Linked DNA regions of Homo sapiens: all the other regions are linked to region 2. Evidence: promoter capture Hi-C in human tissues and cell types (Jung and others, 2019). All regions are on one chromosome and are shown on one strand. Each heading gives the region's core, a stretch centred on a gene start or on the middle of the fragment in contact. The rest is flanking DNA. Distances are from core to core; before and after follow the strand shown.

Evidence for each region. Contacts are between HindIII fragments. The study calls those that stand out against the background at their distance.
Region 1: a fragment that was not itself captured here is called in contact with the fragment with the promoter of ELK3 in region 2 in 1 of the 25 tissues and cell types used here (adrenal gland).
Region 3: a fragment that was not itself captured here is called in contact with the fragment with the promoter of ELK3 in region 2 in 1 of the 25 tissues and cell types used here (mesenchymal stem cells).
Region 4: a contact is called between a fragment that was not itself captured here and the fragment with the promoter of ELK3 in region 2, in 1 of the 25 tissues and cell types used here (heart left ventricle).
Region 5: a contact is called between a fragment that was not itself captured here and the fragment with the promoter of ELK3 in region 2, in 1 of the 25 tissues and cell types used here (mesendoderm cells).

What each region holds. Positions count from the first base shown.
Region 1 is chr12:95,849,817-95,852,516 of GRCh38, reverse strand. The region is part of intron 1 of SNRPF-DT (SNRPF divergent transcript); the gene reads left to right. Among named protein-coding and RNA genes, the nearest start is that of SNRPF-DT, 7.7 kb to the left of the region's middle. RefSeq lists cis regulatory regions at 1,431, 2,354 and enhancers at 1,359-1,503, 2,282-2,426. The HindIII fragment of the contact is 5,987 bases long and covers 1-2,700 here.
Region 2 is chr12:96,193,005-96,195,704 of GRCh38, reverse strand. It overlaps ELK3 (ETS transcription factor ELK3), which reads right to left and starts at 1,330. Exons shown (of 5, transcript NM_005230.4): 1 at 1,000-1,330. RefSeq lists an enhancer at 1-34 and a silencer at 1,366-1,505. The HindIII fragment of the contact is 13,150 bases long and covers 1-2,700 here.
Region 3 is chr12:96,454,950-96,457,649 of GRCh38, reverse strand. No RefSeq gene overlaps it. Among named protein-coding and RNA genes, the nearest start is that of CFAP54, 33 kb to the left of the region's middle. The HindIII fragment of the contact is 6,305 bases long and covers 1-2,700 here.
Region 4 is chr12:95,743,176-95,745,875 of GRCh38, reverse strand. All of the region lies in intron 2 of NTN4 (netrin 4), which reads left to right. Among named protein-coding and RNA genes, the nearest start is that of NTN4, 46 kb to the left of the region's middle. The HindIII fragment of the contact is 7,840 bases long and covers 1-2,700 here.
Region 5 is chr12:96,561,936-96,564,635 of GRCh38, reverse strand. It overlaps CFAP54 (cilia and flagella associated protein 54), which reads right to left. Exons shown (of 68, transcript NM_001306084.2): 18 at 82-168. Among named protein-coding and RNA genes, the nearest start is that of CFAP54, 74 kb to the right of the region's middle. The HindIII fragment of the contact is 4,172 bases long and covers 1-2,700 here.

The DNA.
Region 1 (2,700 bases), core at 18-2,517, 340 kb after region 2:
TGAATGGAGTGAGGAGAACATCCACATAAGAGAGCAGCCAGTGTGGGGTGTCAGAGCCTGAGCAGGAGGAGGAAGGTATCTACATAGGAGGGCAGGCAAACATGGGAAGTTGGTGCCTGAGGAGGTGAGGATGGTGATCACGCATGGCGAGGGGCAGCCCAGCACCAGCCATTGGAGCCCAAGTAGGATGAAGCATCCCCAGAGGGTGGCCTGACAGGGAGTGTTGGAGCCTGAGTGGGGTTAAGAGGGTGTCCACACTGCGGGGAAGAGGGTGGCCTGCTGTGGAGTGTCAGAGCCTAAAGGAAGCAAGGAGGATGTCCATGCAGAATGACCTGGCACACGGTGTCAGAACCTGAATGGAATGAAGAAGAAATGCAGGGGAGGGGACAATGGCAGGAAGGGAAATTTGTTACAAGGGCACTAATCAAAGGAATCAACCTATAATAATGAGCATACTTAATGCTCAGGTTTTAGTTTCTAGAAACTGCTTCCCACTAAAGGAATCAGGATCCCTTCGAACATTGGCTATTTTCAGTCTTCTTCACTATAGTAACTGGTAGACACCATCTTATTACAATCCAGTGATCAAACAACTATCGTTAGCAACTGGAAAATCAAAATCAGGTGCCACATGATAAGATGCAAAGAAAAGATGCATTCTGTGATATTCTTACCAAAGCCACATAACCTGAATCTAGTAATCAGGAAATATCAGACAAACCACATTGAGGAACAAAGTGGCCTGCAATGTTCAAGAGTGTCAAGGCCACAGAAAGATCTCCATGATAAATTGCTGAGAAAGACAAGGCACCGAATAATTTGCAAAATATGCTGCCTCTGTATAAAAAGAGAAAGAAGGGGATAACAAGCTATCCATTTCTGTGTATGTGCATAAGTATACTGGAGGGCTCCTAAGATACTAAGAACACGGGTTGCCTATGGGTGTAGTGGGAACTACACTGAGGGCAGACAATGATGAGATGTTTCACTATGCATTTTTTAAAAACTTTTAATTATGAAATTCACATATTAACCATTTCAAAGTATACAATTGAGTGGCATATAGTACATTCACAATGTTATTGCAACCACCACCTCTATATAATTCCAAAACATTTTTGCAAGTTCATTTATTTGTTTGTTTGTTTTGGGATGGAGTCTCGCCCTGTCACCCAGTTTGGAGTGCAGTGGTGCAGCCTCGGCTCACTGCTAACCTCCGTCTCCTGGGTTCAAGCGATTCTCCTGGTTCAGCCTCCTGAGTAGCTGGGATTATAGGCACATGCCACTACACCCAGCTAATTTTTGTATTTTTAGTACAGACGGGGTTTCACCATGTTGGCCAGGCTGGTCTTGAACTCCCGACCCCAAGTGATCTGCCTGCCTCGGCCTCCCAGAGTGCTGGGATTTCAGGCATGAGCCACTGTGCCCAGCCCATTTTCACAACTTTAAAAGAAAACTCTGTAGTCATTAAGCAGTTCCTCCCTATCTTCCTTCTCTCCTAGCCCATGGCAACCCTCAGTCTGCTTTCTATCTCTATAAATTTACCTGTTTTGGATATTTCATATAAATAGAAACAACATGTGACCTTTTATATCTGGCTTTCACTAAGTGTAATGTCTCTGAGCTTCACCCACATTGTAGCTTGTTGTAGTAGTAGTACTTCATTCCTTTTAATGTATGAGTATGATTCCACTGTATGTATATACCACATTTTGTTTATCCCTGCACCTGTTAATGGACATTTGGGTTGTTTCCACCTTTTGGCTACTGTGAATTTTGCTGCTATGAGCATTTGTGTACAAGTATTTGTTTGAATACCTGTTTTCAATTTCTTTGGACATATACCTAGGGGTGTGGAATTGCTGGGTCATATCATAATTTTACACAGAACTTTTTTTGAGGAACTGCCAAACTTTTCCACAGCAGCTGCGCCATTTTATATTCCCACCGGCAATGTATGAAGGTTCCAATTTCTCCACGTTCTCACCAACAATTTGTTATTTTCCGTTTTTGTTGTTGTTTTAATTATAGCCATGCTAGTGGCTATAAAGCAGTATCTCATTGTGGTTTTGATTTGCATTTTCCTAATGACTAATGATGCTGAGAATCTTTTCATTTGCTCATTGGCCATTTGTATATCTTCTTTGGAGAAATATCTGTTCAAATCCTACATACCCTTTTAATGTTCTATTTTTGGAACTTTTGAATGTATTGCCTACTAAAATAAAAGAAAAAGTCATTTAATTGTCTTGGATCTTATTTTCTTCCTTTATACACTGTAGGGATTGGGCTAGATCAGAGTTTTCAACCTTGATATTATTGACATTTTGGACCAAATAATTCTTTTTTCTTTATTTTTCTTTTTTTCTTTTTTTGAGACCCCGTTTTTTTGAGACGGGGTCTCTCTCTCACCTAGGCTGAAATGCAATGGCTCAATCTTGGCTCACTGCAACCTCCACCTCCCGGGCTCTAGTGATCCCCCCATCTCTGCCTCCCAAGTAGCTGGAACCACAGGTGTGCACCACCATGCCCAGCTAATTGTTTGTATTTTTGGTAGAGACAGGTTTTCGCCATGTTGTCCAGGCTGGTCTTGAACTCCTGAGCTCAAGCAATCTGCCTGCCTCGGCTTCCCAAAGTGCTGGGATTACAGGAGTGACCCACCGCAACCAGCCACAAATAATTCTTATTTTGTGACTTGTC
Region 2 (2,700 bases), core at 81-2,580:
TTCCAGACAAGCCAGAAACTCTCCCGACACTCGTTTTTTTTTCTTTCTAAAAAGCCCCTTTTGCAGTTTCTGAAATAACATTTCTTGCTTCCACCTCCACCCGCCGCCTAACTGCAGCTTGTCCCTAGGATGATTCGGTTCAGAAAAGATAACAAAACCAAGACCTTTTATTTTTGCTTTTTAACTACTCCAAAATCTTAATCCCGCCTCCCCAAAAGTTACAGTAGCGTCACAGGCCAACGTTGAGTTCGAAGGTAAACAGGGATGGGGAGTGGAAGGGGCCCCAAGATCATTTCTTGCCTGGTCCTTCTCCAAAACCATGCCCAATAGAGACCACCGGCTTTTAAATGTCCGATGGGGCGTGCGCCTGGGGCGGTGACCTGGGCGGGGGTCACCTGCCAAGCGAGAGTGGACGCAGCCCCCAGCCCCACACCTTCGCGACCCATGTCCTCCACCGCCCTCTCCATCCCTGTCTTCCTCCCTGGATCCGAGCACCAGTGCACTTTGCCCACTCGAGGGGAGCCTGACTGCGGTCCCAGCTGGAAGGTCGGCGGTGGTCCAGCCTCCAGGCACTCAGCCTGCTCCTGCCACGGTTCTTCCCAGGGACCCGAAGTCTCGCCGTCCCCCGCTCCCCGCGCTGCCTGCAGCGGGGCCCTGGGCGAGCTCCCAGGGTTGCACGCCCGGCGCCCCTTCCTCTGGGGTCGCAGCGCAGCCCCAGGGAGGGGAGCCGCGGGCGCAGGGTCCCCGCAGCCCCGGGCCCGGCGCGAGCTCGGGCGACGGCGGTGGCAGCGACGCGGGCGCAGGAGCATCCGCGGCGCCCCCTCCCCGCGGCCGGCCCTCCCGCGCGGACGCACCGCCACCCCCACCCCGGCCCGCAGCCCACCCCGCGGCGCCCCCCGCCCCACCCCCACCGCGCCCAAGAAAAGAAAGAAAAAAAGAAAACACCCCCAAACAAACTTTTTAAGTGTCCGAGCAACAGGCAGAAGCCCTGTTACCTACCCAGATGTGGGGGAGTCTTCTTCGGGGGGAATTTCTAGGAGGACCCGGGCGAAAGCCCCCGACTTTCCATGCTGACAGGCGTCTGCAGACGGTCTGTGGCTCTTGTAATGAGATCCTGATTTTTCCCCCTTTTTTTCTTTCTCTCGCTCCTCTTTTTTTTTCCCCTCTGGTGTGTGTGAGAGCAGGAAGTTGGAGCAGTCAGGCCGAGCCGGCTCACTTCCTTTACTGCATTATTCCCCAGGCGGTGTGCAGTCTGTGTAAACAGGCTTTTCCGCCCCGCGCCGCGCGCCCCGGCCGCGGCTGTGCGCCGGGGCTGGCCGCCCAGGCCCGCGCCTCCCCCGCCGCCCCGGCCCCGTGCGCGCCCCGCACCGCCCCCACCCGCCCCGCTTCCTGCGCGGCCACCCCGGGGAGGAGCCTCCGACCCGCGGCGACTCCGCGCGGCCGCAGCCCCTCCCCACGGGGAGGGGGGTCCGCCCGCAACCCGCAGAAGCCGCCGCGCTTCCCGGGACACCGGGGATCCCTCCTCACCTCAACCCCTGGGGGTCGAGCGCGCGGGGCACCACGACGGGGTCGTGCCCTGCGCAGTTGGCCCGGGAGGGGGGTCCCGAGGTGGGGAGGCGGCTGGACTCGCTGTTTCCCATCCGCTGGGATGGAAGAGTTGGGGGGCAGAGGGGAATCGAGAGTGGGGTTCAGGGTTTGGTTGCTCTGGGCAAAGGACTGCTTTTCTTGTGGGTGCGGGCACAGTTTCCGTCTGGGGTTGGAGATGGACACCGTTCCTGTCTGGGTTTTCGGTGTTTTAAAAGCCAGCCCTCGGCCGGGCGTGCTGGCTCACGCCTGTAATCTGAGCACTTTGGGAGGCCAAGGCGGATGGATCACCTAAGGTCAGGAGTTCGAGACCAGCCTGGCCAACACGGCGAATCCCCGTCTGTACTAAAAATACCAAAACAACAACAACAAAAACAGCCAGGTGTGGTGGTGGGTCCCTATAATCCCAGCTACTTGGCAGGCTGAGGCGAGAGAATCGCTTGAACCTGGGAGGCAGAGGTTGCAGTGAGCTGAGATCGCCCCATTGCACTCCAACCTGGGCAACCAGCGAAACTCCGTCTCAAAAAAATAAAAAAGCCAGCCCTCAGTTGGGGGGCGAGCCTGTGGGGAAAGGATAAGGAGCCACAACACTGGAAGTCATGGAAATAATGCCCGCAGGGTCAGAGACTGAGGCTTGAAGGGAGCCTCTGTGGTCTCAGAACTGGTCTTCACACCTCCACATCCCTCAAGGAGGTCCTGCCTCTGAGGGCTCAGGCCAGGCTCTGATGGGAGAGCCTGCCCATTGCCCTAGGCTGAGACAAGGTTGGGGGGGATGGCTGTTGAAGAGCCTCTCCCTTCCCAGGCCTGCGCCCCAACCTCACTGCTCACCTTCCAGAACCTTCCATTCCCATGCCGCCACTTAGCAGCCCAGACCCCTGGTTTTCAAACTTGACCCAAGGGGCTTGTTAAACCACTAGTGGCTGGGCCTCTCCTGGAGTCCCAGATTCAGTAGGTCGGGGGTGGTTCCGGGCCCCGGCTAATGTCAGAATCACCTGGGGAGTGTTTTGACACTCTCCAACAATATACTCAACCCAGGCCAATTAAGTCAGATTCTCTGGGGGCCGGGTGTGAGTCCTTTCAAAAGGACCACATTCTAAGAGTTCCTCCACTACGTTT
Region 3 (2,700 bases), core at 182-2,681, 260 kb before region 2:
ATCCAGCCTGCACTCCTGCTCATCTTAGCTAAAACAACACCTTTTCCTGTTTTATTTTCCTAGTAGCTATATTTTCTGTATATATAAAAAAAAGTTCTCTTGTTTGTTTACACATTTGCTGTCAGTTCTTGTTACAGAGAATGGTGTTTATCTCTTCTACTCAACATGTAACTCCAGTTTCTAGAACAATGCCTGACACTTAGGAGGTGCTTGAAAATATTTGTTGAATGAGTAATTCTACTTAACTCCCTTGAAGCTTCAAAGCATCTTGGGGCCAGGTGTGGTGGCTCATACCTATAATCCCAACACTTTGGGAGGGCAAGGGGAGAGGATGACTTCATCCCAGGAGTTTGAGACCAGCCTGGGCAACAAAGTGAGACTCCATTTCTACAAAAAATAAAATCATTAGCCAGGCATGGCAGCATGCACCTATAGTCCTTGCTAGTCTGGAGGCTGAAGTGGGGGGATCACTTGAACCCAGGAGTTTGAGGCTGCAGTAAGCTCTGATCGCACCACTGCACTCCAGTAGAGAACTAGGCCTTGTGTTTTAAAAAATAAATAAATAAATAAATGAAAAGCATCTTGGGCTCAAGGAGCTTCTTTATTGTTCCATAACAGCTAGCAACTCTCACACTCTGTCCATTTCATCATCACCTGGAAATGCCCCACCTCTGAAATTGTAAACCCCACAGACATTTGCTCCAGTTATTAATTCCTTTTTCTCTCTTTCTCTGGTACATTCTCTACTGCCTTACTCCCAGCAGCCCAGGATTCTAATCGTAACACAAATGCTCCACCAATTCCATCTAATGGTTTACCTCTCACTTCCCTCTATGGCTAAGGTTAGTAAAAGGGTAGCTGATACCCCACTAGTTTCATTTCCCCTTCTCCCACTCTCTTTCAACCCAGGCACTCTGGCATCAGTTTCCACCACTCTACCAAAACTGCCTTTGCCAACGTCACCACCCCACGATCCCATCACATTGTAAAAAAAAATTTAACTTACTTAAAAAAAAGTACTCTAATACCAAGTGTTAGGAATATATGGGAAAACAAGAACTTTTATACGGCTGGAGTAAAAATTGGTACACCAGCCTGGGCAACAAAGTGAGACCTCATCTCTACAAAAAAAAACAAAAAACAAAAAACAAAAAACATTAGCCAGGCATGGTAGTACATGCCTGTGGTCCCAGCAACACAACAAGTTGAGGCAGGAGGATCACTTGAGACTAGGAAGTCGAGGCTGCAGTGAGCCATAATCACACCACTGCACTCCAGCCTGGGTGACAGAGGGAGACCCTGTCTCAAAAAAAAAAGAAAAAAAAAGGAACAACCCATTTTGGAGAGCAATTGACAATTGACAATATCTACAATATCTGGCACAGTTAAAAACATGAATTACCAGAAACATATTCTGCTAGAGAAACTGTCCTACGTGAACACAAGAAGACATATGTATGAATGTTTGTCACAGCATTGCTTATAATAGCAGAAATTTGGTGGGACGCAATGGCTCACACCTGTAATCCCAGCACTTTGGGAGGCCGAGGCAAATGGATCACGAGGTCAGAAGTTTGAGACAAGCCTGACCAACATGGTGAAACCCTGTCTGTACTAAAAATACAAAAATTAGCCGGGCGTGGTGGCAGGCGCCTGTAATCCCAGTTACTCAGGAGGCTGAGGCAGGAGAATGGCGTGAACCTGGGAGGCGGAGGTTGCAGTGAGCCAAGATCGCATCATTGCACTCCAGCCTGGCCACATAGAGCATGACTCTGTCTCGGAAAAAAAAAAAAAAAAAAGCAGAAATTTGGAAATTACCTAGATGTCCATCCATTGTGGTAGAGACTTGTTTCTTAAACTTCCCCTTCCCCTTCTTCATCAGTAATAGAACAATCAAATTTGAGGCATGTGGTCACTTAGAATGAAAATTCCTCTTCCCACTCTCCTTTATAGCTGATAATTATAGCTGATAATGTGATTAAGTTTTCACCAATTGGTGTAAGCAAAATGGGGGAATGAGGCTTCTTCCCTTTCTCCCTTGTACTGTAGTAATGCAGATGTGTTCACTAGAGGTGGAATGACCACCTTGAATTTTGAGGTGACTTTGTACATAAAGGCCTATGCACAGTGGAGTAACAAGATTGAGGAAGCTAGGGTCCCTAAACTTAGGACACTCCATACCATCCCTGGAAAACCATCTTTAGGCCAGGCATGGTGGCTCACACCTGTAATCCCACCACTTCGGGAGCCTGAAGCGGACAGATCACTTGAGGCCAGAAGTTCAGGACCAGCCCGGCCAACATGGAGAAACCCCGTCTCTACTAAAAATACAAAAATTAGCCAGGTGTGGTGGCAAATGCCTGTAATCCCAGCTACTTGGGAGGCTGAGGCAGGAGAATCACTTTAACCTGGGAGGCGGAGGTTGCAGTGAGCCGAGATCTGAGATCGCACCACTGCACTCCAGCCTGAGCGACAGAGCTAGACTCCAGCTCAAAAAAAAAAAAAAAAAAAAAAAAAAAAAAAAACAAAGAAAAGAAAACCATCTTTAGACATACACACAAGAGAGAGAAAATTTTCTTATCAACACTGTTATTTTGTTTTTTTCAGTCATCTTTGGCCAAACTTAATCTTAACATTGAAATCAATGTATTCATAATATGGACTCCAGAAAAACAATAAATAGACAAACACACAAGAGAG
Region 4 (2,700 bases), core at 191-2,690, 450 kb after region 2:
GCAGAATTAGCCTTATGCTAGAAAATGCATTGGTCCCACATAACAAAATGTAAAAGCAAGACTCAAAAGGATCCAGCTATTTCCAGGAAACTGAACTGCATCCCAAGAAAAAGCTCAAGAATACAAAAATATTCAGCCCCCAACAAGGTAAAATTCATGATACCTAGCAGCTAATCAAGACCTGCAAAGAAACAGAGAATACAACTCATAATAAAAAGAAAAACAAATCAATAGAAACAGACACAGAAATGACACAAATGATACAGTTAGTAGCTGAGGACTTTAAAACAGTTATTATCACTGTATTTCTTATGTTCAAAAGGTGGAAGAAAGATGGAGCACATTAAGCAGAGGCAAGGAAAAGATAGCAAAAAAAAGTTGAATGACCATTTTTGAAGATTCTGATGCCTGAGATGAAAAATACATACCAAACAGGATTAGTAGACTAGACATTGTAGAAGAAAAGATTAGTGACGTTTAATACGTAGCAATAGAAATGACCCAATATGAAACACAGGGAGAAAAAAAAGCCAGAAAAAGAAATAAATATAGCATTAGTGAGCTCTGGGACAGCTTCAGGCAATTTGGTACATGTAGTTGGAACCAACAAAGGAAAGAAGGGAGAGGAGGGGAACAAAAATTTTTAAGAAATAATGGTTGAAATTTTTCTAAATTTTATAATAACTATAAATCCATGGATCCAAGAAGTGCAACAAACCTTAAACACAAGAAACAAGAAGAAATCTACTCCAAAACACATAACAATCAAATTGTTTAAAAAGCAATGGTAAAAAGAAAACCTTAAAAGCAGCCAGAGAAAAAAATGGCACATTACGTACAGAGGAACAAATCTAAGAATGACAAAAGCTTTTTGTTGGAAACAACGTAAGCCTGAAGACAGCGGAGGCAGAAACTTTTAAAGTGCCGAAAGAAAAAAAGAAGTCAACTTAGAATTCTATACCCAGCAAAAAATATTTTACAAAAATGAAGATGAAGTCAAGACTTTTTCAGACATAAAGAAGCCAAAAAAAAAAAAAAAAAAGTTTTTCACCAGCAGATTTGCATTGAAGGAAATCCTTCAGACAGAAGAAAAATGATACCAGATGGATATCTGGACCTACAAAAAGGAATGAAGATCATCAAAAAGGAAAAGTAGGTGAATACATGTGAAATGCCTTTTTATATTTCTAAAATCTCTTTAAAGATAATTAGTTGGCTTTTTAAAGCCAAGGTATTAACAGTGTGTTGTGGAGCTTATAACATATACATAGAGGTAATATGGATGACAACAGTGCAAAGGTTGAGGGGAGGAAATGAGAGTATACTCTTCTTAGTTTCTTATACTATATGTGAAGTGGTAAATATCATCAATCACATTAAATGTAAAAGGTGTAAATATCCCCATTAAAGGCATAGATTATAATATTGGACAAAATTTTTGAAAAAGATTAGGTATGCTGCCTATAAGAAGCTCACTTTAAATATAAAGATATAGCTAAGTTAAAAGTAAAAGGATAAAAAAAGATATACCCTACTAATACTTTAAAAGAAAGCTCGAGTGGCTATATTACTATCAAAGTAGATTTTAGATCAAAGAATATTGCCAAGGATAAAAAGGGACATACACTGATAAAACAGTCACTTCATCAAGAGGATATAACAATCCTCCATGTTGGCGGGGCACGGTGGCTCAGGCCTGTAATCCCAGCACTTTGGGAGGCTGAGGCAGGTGGATCACCTGAGGTCAGGAGTTGAAGACCAGCCTGGCCAAGATAGTGAAACCCCATCTCTACTAAAAATGCAAAAATTAGCCGGGCGTGGTGGCAGGAGCCTGTAATCCCAACTACCTGGGAGGCTGAGGCATGAGAATCACTTGAACCCAGGAGGTGGAGGTTGCAGTGAGCCAAGATCGCGCTACTGCCCTCCAGCCTGGGGGACAAGAGTGAGACTTCATCTCAAAAAACAAAAAGCAACAATCCTCCATGTTTATGTACCCAACAACAGGGCTTCAAAATACATGAAGCAAAACCTGAAGGGAGAAATAAAATAAGTTGATAATTATAGCTGGATATTTCAATACTTTTTCAAGGATACAAGGTGCATTATCAAGACAGAACATATACTGAGTCATAAAACAAGTATTGATAAATGTAAAAGGATTCATATCATACAAAATATGTTCTTTGACCACAATGAAATTAAGTTAGAAATCAATAACAGGAAGGTATCTGGGAAATCCCCAAATAACTGGAGTAAACACACTTTTTATTCCAGTTATTCAAAGAAGAAATCAAAAGGAAATCAGGAGTATTTTGAAATTGAATGGAAATGAAAACACAGCGTATCAAACTTCGGGGGGATGCAACTGAAGAAGTACCTAGGGAAAAAGAAACATCTCAAATCAATGATCTTCAAGTCCAACAGAGCTTAAAAGTAAAATTCACTGCTTAGTGAATTATTTTTAAAAAGTCAAATCAATGATCTAAGTTTTCCCTTTAAGAAACTAGTAAAAGAAGAGCACATTAAACACAAAGTAAGCAGAAGAAAGTAAATAATAAAGATAAAAGCAGAAACCAATGAAAAAGAAAAACAGAAAAACAATAGAGAAAATCATTAAAACAAAAAGCTGCTTCTTTAAGAATGTGAGGATGTGTCTAGTATCTTAAGAACTGTTAAAGAACAAATGCAGTTATGTTCCTG
Region 5 (2,700 bases), core at 94-2,593, 370 kb before region 2:
ACAAACATTTTACCAAAAAGGTGAGATTAAAAACTATCTTCCAAATTTTTTGGAAATACCAGTTATCCCAATTTTAATTACCTGTAAAACAATCAGTGCTTCCAGATTGTTTTAACTTTTCCGGACCCTTGGTAGAAATATCTTTGCTAACAGTTGGAGTCTGCAAAACTGAAGAAGAAGACGACTGTCATAACAATTAAGTATGTATCCAAGAGAGGAAATATTTTTTAAATACTAAGGAGTAACTATTCATAAAGCTACTGCTTCCTCTGTCATGTCATTTTTTTCATTAATAGATAAAAATTCATATAAATCTACTATAATGCAGTTTTATCAAATCCTCTTTTATTTGCCACAGTATACCTCAGGACAGAAGAAATTCCAAATTATAAAAATATTTGATTTTCTATCTCATCTTGAATAAAGTCATCCTGAGGATTGATAGAATCCAACCTACTTCTGTTGACTTTACCTTTTCACAGAAGTACAGATGGCAAGTCCTGATACCAATACCAATAAGCTGTCAAACTCTGTCCTCAACACCCCTTCTAGAAAAACTGTTTCATCCAAGGTCCCTTTAAGAGCTCTGGGTAACACACGAAGACCTCCACTATCTTCCAGCTGTGGCTGATGAAATCAGAGCCTGTCTCAAGATTTTGAACTAAAACATGAACTTGCCAGTTGTTGATACTGGTATACAATTGGGACTGACCATCATGGTGGTTCAGTAAAGACAGGAATGTGGATGAGGGGAAAAAAGGATACAACTATATACAACTATACTAGCCCAGGGAGATGGAAACTGTAGCACTGATTCTTGATTTTCAGGTCTGGTGCTTAAGAGACCTGGTAGTATTTTGGTCCTTGGAGATATGCGAGGGTAGCTATAGTAACCTTACAATAAACCCCTTTTACTGAGTTTTAATTATTTGTGCTAATGCACATGAGCCACCATGTGATAGTAATTGATTCGTGAAAAGATGTTAACATACACCATTGAAGAATAGAAGGCATCTGCAGTGGCAAAGGGTAAGGAAACATCTGCATGGAGATAGCAATGCAGAGCAGAAAATAGTGCATCATTCTCTCAATACCAAGGATATTATAAATGCTAATTAAGCTTTCCTGATTATAATCGTTGGAGATAAGAAGGATGAGACTGCAAAAAAATTCTGAATGCCAAATACAGATGCATCATATTTATGTCATGGACATCAACAGGCAACCATTATTGAATAAGAATGCTAATGTAGGGAACATCAGTCTGGCAACAGCATGCTAAAGAAAGACAAGGTAGGGGAACAAAGTGATCAGCTGTGCTAGGATGGCAATTCAATAAAGCCAAGAAAAAATTCAAGGAAACCCAGAGATATTGCAAGGAAATAATAACTAATTCCATTTACATCTGAACTCAAGTCTTGCATCAATATCTTTAAGTGGTCTATGATCAAAACTCATTTGGTCTTCAAAGATTTATGGATGACAATTAGAGAACGAGGTATTAGGAACTCCATGAGTTTAAAAAAAAACTCTAATCCTCCACTAAAGGAAATAATACAGTTACTATGTGAGAATCATGGGCTAGTTTCTTAAAACCTGACACAAAAATTCTATTTACATTTTGAAACATATTTCTAAACCAAATATTTTCAGCCCAAAACATGTTCAAGATTATTATGCTAAGTAATTCATTTATGTATTAGAAAAAACTTTATCAAATTTTCAATTTATACATGATGACACAGAGATATTTTAATTATTACTTGCTTCCCTCTACACCCAGCAGGTCATAGGAGAAGTAGTTTTTGAAACTATGTAAATGTTTAAAATAAAATGTAAAAAGATGAAGAGTATAAAAAAATAAAAGGATGGGGAAAAAAGGAAATTTTATATAAACAGAATACAGGCAGGGCATAGTGGCTCACACCTGTAATCCCAGCACTTTGGGAAGCCAAGGTGGGCAGATCGTTTGAGGTCAGGAGTTCCGAGACCAGCCTGGCCAACATGGCAAAACCCCATCTCTACTAAAAAAAATACAAAAATTAGCCAGGTGTGGTGGCACATGCCTGTAGTCCCAGCTACTTGAGAGGCTGAGGCAGGAGAATCACTTGAACCTCGGAGGCAGAGGTTCCAGTGAGCTGAGATAACGTCACTGCACTCCAGCCTAGGTGACAGAGGGAGACTGTCTTAAAAAAAAAAAAAAAAAAGAATGCAAATACAAAAAAAGGGTCACAAGTATGTATCAAATTGAAAAAAAAATTAAAAATAGAATTCAAGTAAATTTGGACACAGTTCTCTGATGTATGACATTTTCTAGAGACAAAATGAACTGCAAAGAAATCCTTAATTTACTTAGTAGGTTTTTAATAGTGGTATTGGTTTAATAATTTTGAAAGTAATTTGTTAATTTGCCAGGATAAAACAAATGAGTAATTACATTGATGTTGTTACGAACCAGAATGCTCAATATGGGAGAAGGAAAATACAAAAATGGAGAAGGTGAGGAGAAACCTTTTAGTGTTAGAATTGGAGATATCAAAAAGAACTTGTGGTCAGGCGCAGTGGCTCACACCTGTAATCCCAGCACTTTGGGAGGCCGAGGCAGGCAGATCACTTGAGGTCAGGAGTTCAAAACCAGCCTGGCCAACATGGTGAAACCCCATTTCCACTAAGAGTACAAAAATTAGCCGGGCATGTTGG